3 separate regions of the Homo sapiens genome follow, and regions 1 and 3 are each linked to region 2. Evidence: promoter capture Hi-C in 16 types of primary human blood cells and fetal thymus (Javierre and others, 2016). All regions are on one chromosome and are shown on one strand. Each heading gives the region's core, a stretch centred on a gene start or on the middle of the fragment in contact. The rest is flanking DNA. Distances are from core to core; before and after follow the strand shown.

Region 1 (4,153 bases), core at 1,032-3,531, 190 kb before region 2:
AGAGAATTGTCTGACATCAGTTTAAAGTCCAGAGATGGTGCTGCTGGACCGGGCCTGGGTGGTTCCCGGGATTCCAACAGTGTCATGGGTGCTTGGTCTCCATCTCTGGGCTCTTCTGGCTTCTATGTGACTTCATTCTCAGAAGGCCCTCCGCAAGGAGGAGAGGGATGGCCCCAGTAGTCCAGGTGCCCATCCTGCAGTTAGCAACCCCTGTGGAAAGAGAAACCTTTGCCCAGGGTTCTGCCAAGGCCCCAGGGTTGATGCTTACTCCACCCCTGACCAATCACCGTGGAGCGGTGGGGCCCACAGGGCTGAAAGGTCAGGTCTGGTCCCGATTGTACCCCTGACCCTGGTGGAGGGGGAGCCCCACCAGATCTGCAGGAACTAAGGGAGGAGGAGGGGAGACTTCTGATGCATGGATTCTGTTTCAAGAAAAGAAGTCCCATAAGCTGGGCAGAGAGAGACAACAGCCCCAGTGACCCTGTCCTCTCCGACTCTGCCAGCACCGTGTGCTTCCCTTGCTCTCCACAGATGCCTCTTCCTCCCTGTGTAGAGCTTGGGTGCGGGAATCATGCCCTCTTCTGTTCCTGTGGTCAGGAGGTGCTTAATAAGCCCTGCAGAACAACACAGAGCGTGGCTCGAAATTGGGTGTTGCAATCACAGCCACTGTGGATGGAGGAGCTACCTCTACCAGGTGCTTCATAAATACCGTTTTCAGGAATTACACTTGACAAGATAGAGGACAGGAACGGTGGCTCATGCCCGTAATCCCAGAACTTTGGGAGGCCGAGGCAGGAGGATCACTTGAGCCCAGGAGTTTGAGACGAGCCTGGGGAAGATAGCGAGACCCTGTCTCTACACAAAATACAAAAATTAGCTGGGTGTGGTGGTGCACACCTGTGGTCCCAGCTACTCAAGAGGCTGAAGTGGGAGGACTGCTTGAGCCAGGCAGGCGGAGATTGCAGCGAGCCGTAATGGCCCTACGGCACTCCAGCCTCGGGGACAGAGTGAGACCCTGTCTCAAAAAAAGAAAAAAAACCGAAAAAGCAAGATAGAGGTGAGAAAATGCAGGTCCAGAGATGGGAAGCAATTGCCCAGGTCACACAGCTGGTGAGCAATAGAGCTGGGATCCTCACTGTGTCTGGCTGATGCGTTCTATAACCCCTGGCTTCACCTCTCTGCCGGTACCCCCTCCCAGCCCTCCAAATGTGAGCTCCAGGGGCCTGCAAACAGCCTGAAAATATTAAGCTGCTTCTATTTGATTTGGTCTCTTTTCTGACTATTCCTTGGTACCAGAAGAAACCCCATGTAGGTGAGTAGTTGGGCTTGTTCCAGGGGGAAATGGACAGTGACTTTGCCACCTCTTCTGAGGCCTGGCTTCCTTGCAGGGGGTAATGGGCCCGCTGCTGTCAGGGTCTTTGCACTCGCCGTTCCTCTGCCAGGGATGCTCTTCCTGCAGGTCCCTCTGCTCCCTCTCATCATCCCTGTCTCAGCAAAAATGTCAGGTCCTCTGGGGCCTTGCCTAATAGCCCTCCGCCCCCGGAAGCATCACCCTACAGCATCCTCACTGTCATTTTCCCGTTTACTAGCTTCGTGTTATTATCTCATCCCACTAGGACGGGAAGTTCCAGGGAAGAGGGGACCTATCTTGTCTTATTCACAGACGGGGGATCCTCAGGGCCCAGAACAGTCCCCAGTGCATGTGGGTGCTCAAGAAAGACTTTGAAAATGGGAAGAGGGAACGAGTGGTCTCACAGAGCTCATGATGTGCTGTTTCTGATTTTTTTATTTTCTTTTCCTCCCTCCCTCCCTCCCTTCCCTCCCTCCCTCTCTCCCTCCCTCCTTCTTTCCTTCCTTCCTTCCTTCGTTTCTTTCTTTCTTCTTTCTTTTTCTTTCTTTCTTTCTTTCTCTTTCTTTCTTTCCTTCTTTTTCTTTCTTTTTTGAGACAGGGTCTCACTACATTGCCCAAGCTGGTCTCGAACTCCCAGGCTCAAGTGATCCTCCTGCCTTGGCCTCCCAAAGTGCTGGGATTACAGATGTGAGCCACCGCACCCAACCAGTTCCAAATTTCTGAGGTCTTCAAGCCCTCCTTGCATTTTGTGGCCTACCTGCTGGGAGGGAACGTCTGCTTGGCAGGCTGGCTTGTCTTTGCTCCCAGCCAGAGCTGCTGGAATAACAAGCAGGGCAGGAGCCTTTTCTCCAAGGGGGGCTGACCTGCCCTCTGAGGCAGTGCCCATGGGCTGGGCTTAAGAGCTGACTTGCAGGACAGTTGTCCCAATGGGGTCCCTGGGACTCGTGTCTGTCCCCTGGGGCTGCACGTCGCTTGAGTGCCCAGTGAGGTGGCTTGGGAGGGATTTAGCAGCGGCCACACTGCACTGCTCTGCGCCTCACCACTGCAGCAGGATGGAGCGGGGAGGGAGTGACAAGGGGCTCACGCCAGTCTCCAGTGGCCAGAGAGCTTGACAGGTGGTTCCAGGGCCTATCCAGTCTCTCCATAGGCACTGGGACAGTGACTGAGTCTCTCCTTACTTACTCCCAGGCTTCTGCCCCTCCAGCATCCTGACACCATGGCTTGCTTTTTCGGGGCTCTCCCAGCCTTTCCCTACGATCCTACCACCTTTGTCGCCTCCACACCCATTTCTTTGTTTCTAGGAAAATCGGAGTCTCTCCTCCATCCCTCTCCCACTCTCCTAGACTGGTGGAGAGAAGTGACCAGTGAACCCAGCTGGGCACTGGATGGAATGTGAAAACTCTTGAGACATAGGACAGGAGTTACAGCCGATCTCTGCCCTTTTCCCAGAAAGAAGGCGAAGGTGAAGTCCAAGGTTTCTACACCACAGCAGGCCAGGCCAGGAAGCAGGTGAGAGCAGTGGCGCCTCTGGAACGGCATCCAAATGTCTTTAGAAGGTCTGAGAAGCCCCTGCCAGCTGCCCCGGTGTCACCCACACTATTCCAGGCTGCAGCTCACTGGCCCCATCGCTCGGTTCTCCCTCACACAGGCCCTCTGCCTGGCACAGGACCGTGCCCAGCTGTGCCCTCTGTCCAGAACACTCCCCTGGGGCTTGTCAAGGCTCACCACTCCTTGTCATTCAGGTCCCAGCTCTTGCACCATTAAAGCGTCCATCAGATTCATCAGGAGGGCTTGGGACATCCAGATGGCTGGGCAGCAGAACAGCTCCTCAGCAGGCAGGTCCAGGTAGGGCCTGGGAATCTGCATTTCTAACAAGTTCTCAGGATTGCTTTGGGTTTTGTTAGTTTGCCATTTCCACTGCAGCAGATGAAACTCCACAAGGGCTGACCCCGAGTTGTTTTCATTCTGAGTATCCACAGCCTGGCACACAGTAGGCGCTCAATAAATACTGATTGGATAAATGAACAATTCGACACACCCTCCCATCGATTAGACAGGAGCTTTCCCCATGCTGGGACCTCAAGGGCTCCCTCACGCGTAGGACACCTCGGCATGATGTGTGGAGCTGCTGCGCGCTGGAAATTCCAGAGCTGAACAAATGCTGCCCCCTGTCCTTGGGCACACACCCCTCTAATGAGCCAAAGGAGGCTATTCTAAGGCAGCCGAATGCTGCATGTTCTCCAGTGTGTAACTGTGCTGCTGACACTTCCTTAGACAACCTGGGAAATGTAGGCAAAATTATTATTATCGTTGTTGTTGTTATCAATATTTATTATACGCATTGTGTAGGATGAGCCATTTCACGCCTGGTTTTTAATCAGTTTCTGTTCCCTGAAGACAGTCTGGTGAGTAACTCGTTAGAAAACTGTAGTGAGCTGGAGTCCTCCAACACACCTGTTGGAAGACCCAGTTCAGGACAGCTTCCAGGCCCTGAGCTGGGCAGTGGGGAGCCCTGGGGCCCTGGAGACAGAGGGCATCCACAGCTGTTTTGAAAGCTCACATCCAAACTTTAGAATGTGGAAAGATTGAACTCTTTTTTATTTTTGTATATATATATATATATATATTTTTTGTAGAGATGGGGTCTCACCATGTTGCCCAGGCTGATCTCAAACTCCTGGACTCAAGCAATCCTCTTGCCTCAGCCTCCCATGGTGGAGAGGACTGAACTCTTAAGATAATTCCCATAAGTAAGTGATGTCTGGTCCCTCACTGCTTTACAAATGCCCCTGCCCTCATTGC
Region 2 (4,140 bases), core at 1,271-3,770:
CAGCTTCCATCCATAAAACAGGAGGAAATAATATCTACCCTCACAAGGTTGTTGTGAGCACTAAATAGAATAACACCTGGGGAAATGCTTTATGAGATGTAGTGTGCAACATAAACATCAGGTGGGTTTTAACAGTGAAGTGATGCAGAGCAGAAAGAGCCCTGTACTCAGAGGTGGGAACCCTGCTCTCCACAAGGCAGCTGCACCCCATCTCAACCTCCAGGCTTTTCATCTGTGAAATGGGACCAACATGTATCAAAGGGTTGTGTGGGGCAAATGAGATCACGAGAGCAAAGGAACTTGCTCAGATGTGCATTCAGATTTATGTAGTTGAATCTGAACTGAAACTCTATGATTCTCCATTTCCTCTATAACATGAAAAGCTCAGTTCTTGTGAGGATTAAAGGAGTTAGTGGTCCTTTGCACACTGTAAGGAACTGTAGAAATGTCAGATACTTCGCTCATCCGAGCTGGAGGTGGTATTGCTGTTTCCATAGTCCCAAGGGAGCCCTCAGTGAGTCAGGTGCTCTTTAGGGGTGGGGGAAAAGGGAAACACAGCAGAGGGCCCAATATGGGAAGAGACATCTGTCCACTGAGTCACTTTACCTCCCTTCCTTGCAACAGCAGAACTTCTGGAAATATAGTACCTTCCCACCCCTACACTCCCCTCCTTGCCTACTCCCACTATGCTCACTAATTTGCCCTCCACGTGGTCACTGGTGACCTCCTAACTGCCCAATCCCAAGCCTTTTCCTCAGTCCCCACCTCTGCTGCCCTCTCTCAGGCATGCAAAGCCAGTAGTCATTCTCTTTGCTACAGAATTCCCCCTGTCCTTGGCTTTCACGGCCAGTCTCTCCTAGGTCTCCTTCCTGAGTCTCTCGTAGTCTTCATCAGTAATTTCTGTTCCTTCAGACAATGGGGTTCCCAAGTTTCGGTCATGCCCTCCCTCTACACTCCCTTTATCTCGCCCATTCCCAAGGTTTCATTAATAGCTGTGTCAGGGCTCCCAAATCTACCTTTGGCCTCAGCCAAATCCTAAATCCCAGTGGTCTGTTAGACATCACTATCTGGATGGTGGAGAAGCTCCTCAAATTCAACAAAGCCATACTCATTTTTCCATCACCTTACCCCCACAAAGCTCTTCTGTTCTCCACCTTGACTGGAGACATCGAAGTGTGCTCACTCACACGGCCGTTCGGGCTGCCTGCGCGCATCCCTCACCCTCACCTCCTCTATGCAATTGGATCTCAGGCTCTCTAAGAGCTCTCCTCTGCATCCCCTCCTCCCCATTCCCACACACTGCACCAGACCATCCTCCGGCCTGATTATTACAACAGCCTCCTAAACTGATAGCTCTGCTTCTAGTTTCTTCACCTCCTTACCCCACCCAACTTGATCACCTCTGCACTCATGGCCGGCACAGGGTCTGGTATAGGTATGTGCTAATGTGCCTTTCCAAAATTGGAAGCAAGGGGAGTGGGTAGTTTTTTATTTAATAAAGCAACAAATCAGCTTCTGATAAATCTCCCCAAACCATACATACCTATGCTGAGTTTCCAAATCTGTCAAATAGGGGTGTGGAATTCTTGTTCTATGCTGCAGGTCTATTTCAAGGATAAAATGAGGTAACTGGGGCAATTACCTTCGAAAAGGACTAAGGGCTACACACGTGTCTTTCTCAAGGCCCAGCTAGTTCATTTATTCATTCACTCACTCATTCATTCCCTCATCCATTCAATATTTATTCAGCATTTTTACATGACAGAATCTGTGAAGCAATCCCCAAGTAGCCCTAATATTTATATGCTAGGTAAATGTATTCAGCTCTGTCTCTTCCCACTGAGATTCCCTGTGGGGAGGGACATGTCTCCTTCACTGCAGTATCCCCAGAGCCCAGGGTCTGTTTGCCTAAGGGCCCCGTGGCTTCCCTTAGCTGAATGGGCTACACGAAGTGAGTTTTCCTCCTGAAAAGTACCCCAGGGACCTCTACTGATGTTGGGAGCTGCCATCGAGAACCAGCTGGCAGGCTGGGTGTGGTGGCTTGCACCTGTAATCCCAGCACTTTGGGAGGCTGAGGCAGACAGACTGCTTGAGCCCAGGAATGTGAGACTAGCCTGGGCAACATGGCAAAACGCCATCGCTAGAAAAAAATAACAAAAATTAGCTGGGTGTGGTGGTGTGCGCCTGTAGTCTCAGCTACTCCGGAGGCTGAGGTGGGAGGATCACTTGAACCCAGGAGGTCAAGGCTGGAGTGAGCCCTGACTGTGCCACTGTACTCCAGTCTGGGTGATAGAGAGAGAGACCCCATCTCAAAAACAAAGAAAGAGAACCAGCTGGCTTAATCTTTCCAGTGTCCACTTCCCCTGGTGTGAGCCAAACAGGAGGGATGAGGACAAGACAGCTGTGGAAGGAGCAGGCAGTAATTAGACCGAAGTGCTTACCTGGGACACAGAGAAGCTAGTCACTCTCCTCAGGTCTGAGCTCTTGTCTGGCAATATGAGGCACCCCAATGACCAAAAGCAACACTCAGGGGTGACCCGAGTTATAATATCCTCAAGCCCCACCCTTTTCCTCCACCACCACTTACCAAACATCAGCTAATTCAGGAAGCTGCACTTCCTTCCAAGCCTGCCCTAAGAGTAGCCCAGGCTAGGCAAGGCTGTGGTGAAAACTTGAGCAAGATGATTACCGCGAAGTGGAGCGTTGAACTGGGTCTAAGATTTTGGGCCATTCCCTCTACAATGCTGAGGGCTGTTTATTTTGCAAATATAGTGAGTTCTGAGGTGGTGGCTCGCCCCTAGAAGGAGCTGGAGGCGCCTAGCCTGGAAAGGTTATGGTAAGTACTTTTGAGCAAGAGGCAATGTGGGAGCACAAGCGGAAGGGACTGACTCTGCCGAGAGTGGGCAGGGCTAGCTGAAGAAGCTGAGTCTTGAAGAAAGAACAGCAGTATGCTGACAAAAGTGGTCCTTGACAAAGTGGAGAGCATGTGCACAACCACAAATCACACACACACAGCAATGAGGTGCAGCTCCAGGCGCCTGAAGAGGGTACACCAAGGTAGGAATATATAGTGGGAGAGGAGGTGACAGGCAGACTGCGGAGTCTAGCCTTTAGTCTGTAGCCTGCGCAGGGAGAGTAGGTTCACATCTTAGGTCTTCTCTACTGGAAGAAGGGGAGTGTTAGGCTGCTGTGGAGCTATTGGCGAACAAGCTGTTTTTCTGTGGGAATTTCTCCTCAAAGGCACAGAACCTTGGGGCACCAATGTAGAATACTAGACAGCCTGCAACAATCTTTGTTGAAGGCATGGATACACTTTAAAGCTTCAGGCTGCCTTGTCAGCAGTAACTCTATCCACAGATAGTAGGCCTCCACATGACATCAGGATGGAGACCAGAGATAGTGGCTCCTCTATCAGTAGTGGCATGAAGAGGCCAGGAAACATGCCAAACATCAGTCCTGCTGTGAAGTTTACTGGGTACCAACCAGGCATATAGGCTGTGAAAGGCAGGGAAGTGGGGGATGGGGTGGCAGAGGGTAGAGTGGCTGTCACAAACAACACAGCATCCTGCCTAGCCTGGGATCCCAGTCCCTTTCAACTTTGTTCAGTTGGGAGAGGAGAATGTGGAACTGACTATGAAAGGCCCAGCTGTGATTCATGCAGATAGCCTGCCATTTCTTGAGCCAGGGTGAGGATATGCCCCTGACAAGCATGGCCAGGGCTCTTCATCTGCGTTTCTGGAAGGTCTGTGTCCAGACCCCAGGAGCAGGGGTCCTGGTTCCCTAGTCAGAATGCCAGGGAAAGTCTGGGTCAAGGCCAGTGGAGGGAGAAGGATGGCTGAGCTTGAGGTCTGTGAGCAGCTGGGACAGCCTGGCTGTAGCAGAGGCACTGCAGCTGCCAGCGGTTCTCTTCAGACACCAGATGGCCACTGACCAACAAAGGGAAGGACAAGTCCTCACGAGGTTCCCTCATAGCCCCTTAGTGCCAATCTCCAACTGTAGAGATGGAGCTAAGGAATGAGGAAAGGCAGTTTGCTGGGGGAGAGGTGGGCACAACCAGAGCACTGCCGATGGGCTGGGAGGTCAGGCCTTCCCTCTGCGCTTGCTCACAGGCTTCTCACCACTCACAGTGCCCATGCCAGG
Region 3 (4,582 bases), core at 1,079-3,578, 210 kb before region 2:
AAGACACTTGGGTCAGTGGGACTGGAAGCCTGGCCCCCAGCTTTCAGGCTCTCCCTGGCCTGAAGATGGAGCCTCACTGGGGACTGCCGCCTTCTGCCCAGGAATTTGTCTGCCTCCTGCTGCAGTTCATGGCACTGGGCTCAGCCCTGATAGCAAGGAGAAGCCAGGCAAGGGGAGCAGGCACTTCCAAGCCTGCAAGGGCAGGGGGACTTCCCAAGCCTCCAAGAGTGCAGGGATGCCTGAGCCTGCAGCAGCAGTTTGGGGGTGGGGGGTGGGGGCAGGGCTCCTGTCTGCTCCTGGAGTGGGAAGCCCAGGTCTGCAGCCTTGGTTTGGGCGGTTGCAGCTGCACCCAGGAGGGCAGGGTTCCTGTCTGTTCCTGGCCCCACAAGAGCACAGGGAGACTCGGATCCGCAGCCAGGACTTGGGTGGCTGCAATGTCACCTGGGGAGCTCCTACCCCAGCTTGGAAAGGGTGGGACTCCTGTCTGTCCCCACCTGTGCAGCCCTGGCTGTGACTCCCTGCTGCAGCCGGCATGATGGAGCCACTGCTGCCATCAGTAAGAAAACAAAAAACCCATTTAAAAACTGGACAAAAGATCTGAACAGATACTTTACAAAAGAGGATATAAAGATGTCCAATAAGCATATGAAAAGATGTTCAACATCATTATCCATTAGGGCAATAGGTACAACTACACATCCACTAGAATGAATAAAATAAAAGTTCTGACAATACCAAGTGGAATGCTCACACATTGCTGATGAGAACTCAAAATGGCACCACCCGTCTGGAAATTGATTTATCAATTGTTTATAAAGTTAAATATATGCTTACCATGTGACCCAGCAATTCCACTCCTGGGGATTTACTCTACAGAAATGAAAACTTATGTTCCCATGAAAACTGACCCATGGCTGGACATGGGAGCTCACGCCTGTAATCCCAGCACTTTGGGAGGATGAGGCAGGAGGATCACTTGAGTCCAGGAGTTCGAGACCAGCCTGGGCAACATAAGGAGACCCTGTCTCAACAACAACAACAACAAAAATAGCAGGGCATGGTGGTGCACGCCTGTAGTCCCAGTTACTTGGGAGGCCAAAGCAGGAGGATTGCTGCAGCCCAGGAGTTCAAGGCTGCAGTGGGCTATGATTACATCACTGCACTCCCGCCTGGGCGACTAAGTGGGATTCAGTCTCAAGAAATTAAATAAATAAACAAATAAATAAATTACTGTGAGGAAAAACATTATTGAAAACTTAGTCCCTGTTGGTCTCCAGTAAGTTGTGGGTGTACAAAGCGGAATCCGGTAAGGTCCACATTTGTGGGCATCTTCCAAACAAAGCCAGCAACAGCGTGACATAAGGGGGTAGGAGGAGGGTCAAGTTTCACCCTAATTGCCACCTTCTCAGAGAGGCCTTCCCTGACCCTCCCCACACAAAGTAGCATCCTTGTATGAGTTTCCTGTTGCTGCTGTAATAAACCACCCCAAGATTAGATGTTTAAAACAATGCACACTTATATCTTACGGTCCTGGGGGACACAAGTCCAACCTGGGTCCCATTGGACTAACATCAAGGTGTGGGCAGGGCTGTGTTCTTCCTGGAGGCTCGTAGGGGGAGTCTGTTTCCTTGCTTCTTCCAGCTGCCCGAGGTCACCTGTCCTCCCCCATCCTCATGGCCCCCTTTTCCCCCTTCAAGTTGGGCTGAGTCCCTCCTGCACTCTCACTCTCTGGTTCTCTTCCCTCTGTCTCCCTCTTCCATCTCTAAGGACTCTTGTGATTCTACTGGGCCTATCAGATAATTCAGGACAACGTCCCCAACTCAAGGTCAGCTCATGAGCCACCTGCAATGGCTTCTGACACTAACTGCCTGGAATTAGGCCAGACTCCACAGGCTAAGGGTACATTCCTCCGCAAGACTGCCCTCACTTCAGACACCAGCCACAGGAGCAAGGGGCCCCAGGCCACCCCCACTTCTCACCAGCTGCCTACACATTCAGGGGCTCTCACTGCACCCTCAGGTTTGATAATTTGTTAGAATGACTCAGAACTCAGGAAAGGGCTATACTTACGATGATAAACGGATACAATCAGAACCAACCCAAGAGACAGACCCACAGGGTGAGGTCTGGGAGAGTCCCAAACATGAAGTGTCCATCATGATCTCCCTGTGGAGTCAGGACGCATCCCCCTCTGAGACATCAACGTGTGACAAAACAGAGTATTGTCAGTCAGGGATGCACACCTGAGCTTTGGTGTTGAGTTTTTATTGGGGTTTCATTACATGGACACAATTGCTTGAATGGGCTGCATCATTGGCCGTGAAGCTGAACCCCATCTCCATCCCCCTCTCCTCCATGGAGGTCGGGCTGATATCATGTGTGGCTCACAGCCCCACCCTCTCATCACAGGGCTGGTCTTTCTGGCATGTCCAGCCCTGATCCTGAGCCACCTCCTTGGCATAAAGTAACAGCTATTGTCTGAGTGACTGCAAGTAACAAGACACCCATCACTCAGGAAATTCTAAGGATTTAGAGGCTACCTCCCAGGAACTGGGTACAAAGGCCAGCCAGATTCTTTATGATTCACAACCTTAAGTCCATCTTCACCTTTAACTCTCCTTGGAGTGTGACCTGACATAGTCACAGGTTCCAGGGATTAGACTGAGGACATCTTTGGGGGGCTATTATTCTGCCTGGCACAACCTCCCAGTGTCTAACACATCACCCTGCTTTGTTTTTATTACAATACTGGTGCCTTTGTAAAATGGTCTTATTTTGTTGTTTATTTGCTTATGGCCTGTCTCTTCCTCTGGAGTGTCAGCTATATAAGGGTACCTTGGAGCACCCTGAGCTGACCTAGGCACGTCATGTGTGCCAAATGACAGAGGGAGAAGAGAAAGAGTTGGAGGAGGCAACATTTGAGCTGGTCCTGGAAGGATGAGCGGAGTGCTGCAGGGTGAGCAGGGACTCTGGCCAGGAGCAACAGGTGAATAGAGCCAGAGGAGGGCTTAGGGACTGGGTGGGTCAGGGAGCACTGGGTGGATTGTTGTGGCCGGAGCACTGGGGTGTGTCGTGGGAAGGAGGCAGATGTTGGGAGCTGATCAAGACAGGCAGCTTAGACACAACTGCACGTGGCCAGGCGACAGACCTGAGGGCACCTGCGCTATCTGCTCTAGTGCCTTCTCTCTCTGACACAGGTGCCAGGAGGGAAGCACCAGGGTATGACAAATAGGGATGGACCCTGGAGTCAGCCAGCAGTTGTGTAGTTGTGACCATGGGCAAGTCACCTCACCCCCCCATGGCTGTCACTGAGGCTGGCCCACTTTCCTGTCCAACCCTCTTCTCTTTGCTTTCCTCTAAGGCGGAGCCTGGAGAGCTCAGTTTCCCAATCTCTCTTGCGGCAAGTGCCACCAATCTGGCCAATGAGCTGGAGAAAGAATCTTTGAGGGTGTTCTGGGAGTGGAAAGGGCCCAGTAAAAAGAGGGATAGACTCAGCTGGATCAGAATTTGGCCTTCTCCTCTGCTTCCGGCTTAGAAGGCCACATGATGTCAGGAGCAGCAGCAGCCACCTTGTGACCATGAGGGGCAAGCTAAGAGTAATGTCCTAAGGCTGGCAGGAAGATGGGAAGTTCCCTGGCCTGGAAGGATATCACTGAGCAACTGGGCCAGTGCCAGCAATCACCCACCTCTGGGTATTAGTTGGGCATTCTGTTACTCACAAACACAGCCCTGATTAATACACTCTCTAGGCCTCAGTTTCCTTTACTGTTCACTGGAGCTAATTATATTTATCAATATTCATTCCACTCATGTTGTGTACCAGGAAGTCCTCTAGGTGCTGGTGGCAGAGCAGTGAACAAGAGATAAGGTTCCCATTCCTTATCTATTTATTTATTTTTGAGACAGAGTCTCACTCTGTCACCCAGGCTGGAGTGCAGTGCTGCAATCTCGGCTCACTGCAATCTCTGCCTCCTGGGTTCAAGCAATCCTCCCACCTCAGCCTCCCAAGTAGGTGGGACTACAGGCATGCACCACCATGCCTGGCTAAAGTTGTTGTTTTGTTTTGTTTTGTTTTGGTAGTGACAGGGTTTCACCATGTTGGCTAGGCTGGTCTCGAACTCCTGAGCTCAAGTGATCTGCCTGCCTCAGCCTCGCAAAGTGGGGGGATTACAGGCGGTGAGCCACCGCGCCTGGCCCTCATTCTGTTTGCATTTACATCTCATTGCGTGAGAGAGACAATGAGCCCACAAACAGGAAGCCATCTGAGAGTGGACAAGGCTTCCTAAAAGTCTTAGGAAGAAAAAAAGGGAGGTGATGTGATAGAGACTGGTGTGCACATGGCACGGAGTCTCTGTGACTGGGCTGTGAGGAGGTGGCGCTGGAGCTGAGACCTGAGTGTGAAGAGGACAGGGATTGTGGGGAGGAAGGCCAGGGGGCCGGAGGGCAATGAGTGAGGGTGGAGGTGAGACCAGCAAGTTGGGCAGGGCCAGGTGACATGTCTTGGTAAGCACAGTGACATGTTTTGCATTATTCTAAATGCAAAAGGGAAGCCACTGGGGGCTTTCAGAAGGATATGGGACAA

The links. The method cuts DNA at HindIII sites, captures the fragments that hold promoters and counts their contacts. A CHiCAGO score of 5 or more calls a contact.
Region 1: a fragment that was not itself captured here is called in contact with the fragment with the promoter of HK3 in region 2 in 1 of 17 cell types (endothelial precursors); the score reaches 7.2 in endothelial precursors.
Region 3: a contact is called between a fragment that was not itself captured here and the fragment with the promoter of HK3 in region 2, in 1 of 17 cell types (endothelial precursors). The highest score is 5.6, in endothelial precursors.

The regions. Positions count from the first base shown.
Region 1 is chr5:176,707,505-176,711,657 of GRCh38, forward strand. No RefSeq gene overlaps it. Among named protein-coding and RNA genes, the nearest start is that of LINC01574, 34 kb to the right of the region's middle. The HindIII fragment of the contact is 6,145 bases long and covers 1-4,153 here.
Region 2 is chr5:176,896,826-176,900,965 of GRCh38, forward strand. It overlaps HK3 (hexokinase 3), which reads right to left and starts at 2,521. Exons shown (of 19, transcript NM_002115.3): 1 at 2,442-2,521. RefSeq lists an enhancer at 3,341-3,842. The HindIII fragment of the contact is 6,874 bases long and covers 1-3,318 here.
Region 3 is chr5:176,688,124-176,692,705 of GRCh38, forward strand. No RefSeq gene overlaps it. Among named protein-coding and RNA genes, the nearest start is that of TSPAN17, 43 kb to the left of the region's middle. The HindIII fragment of the contact is 5,662 bases long and covers 1-4,582 here.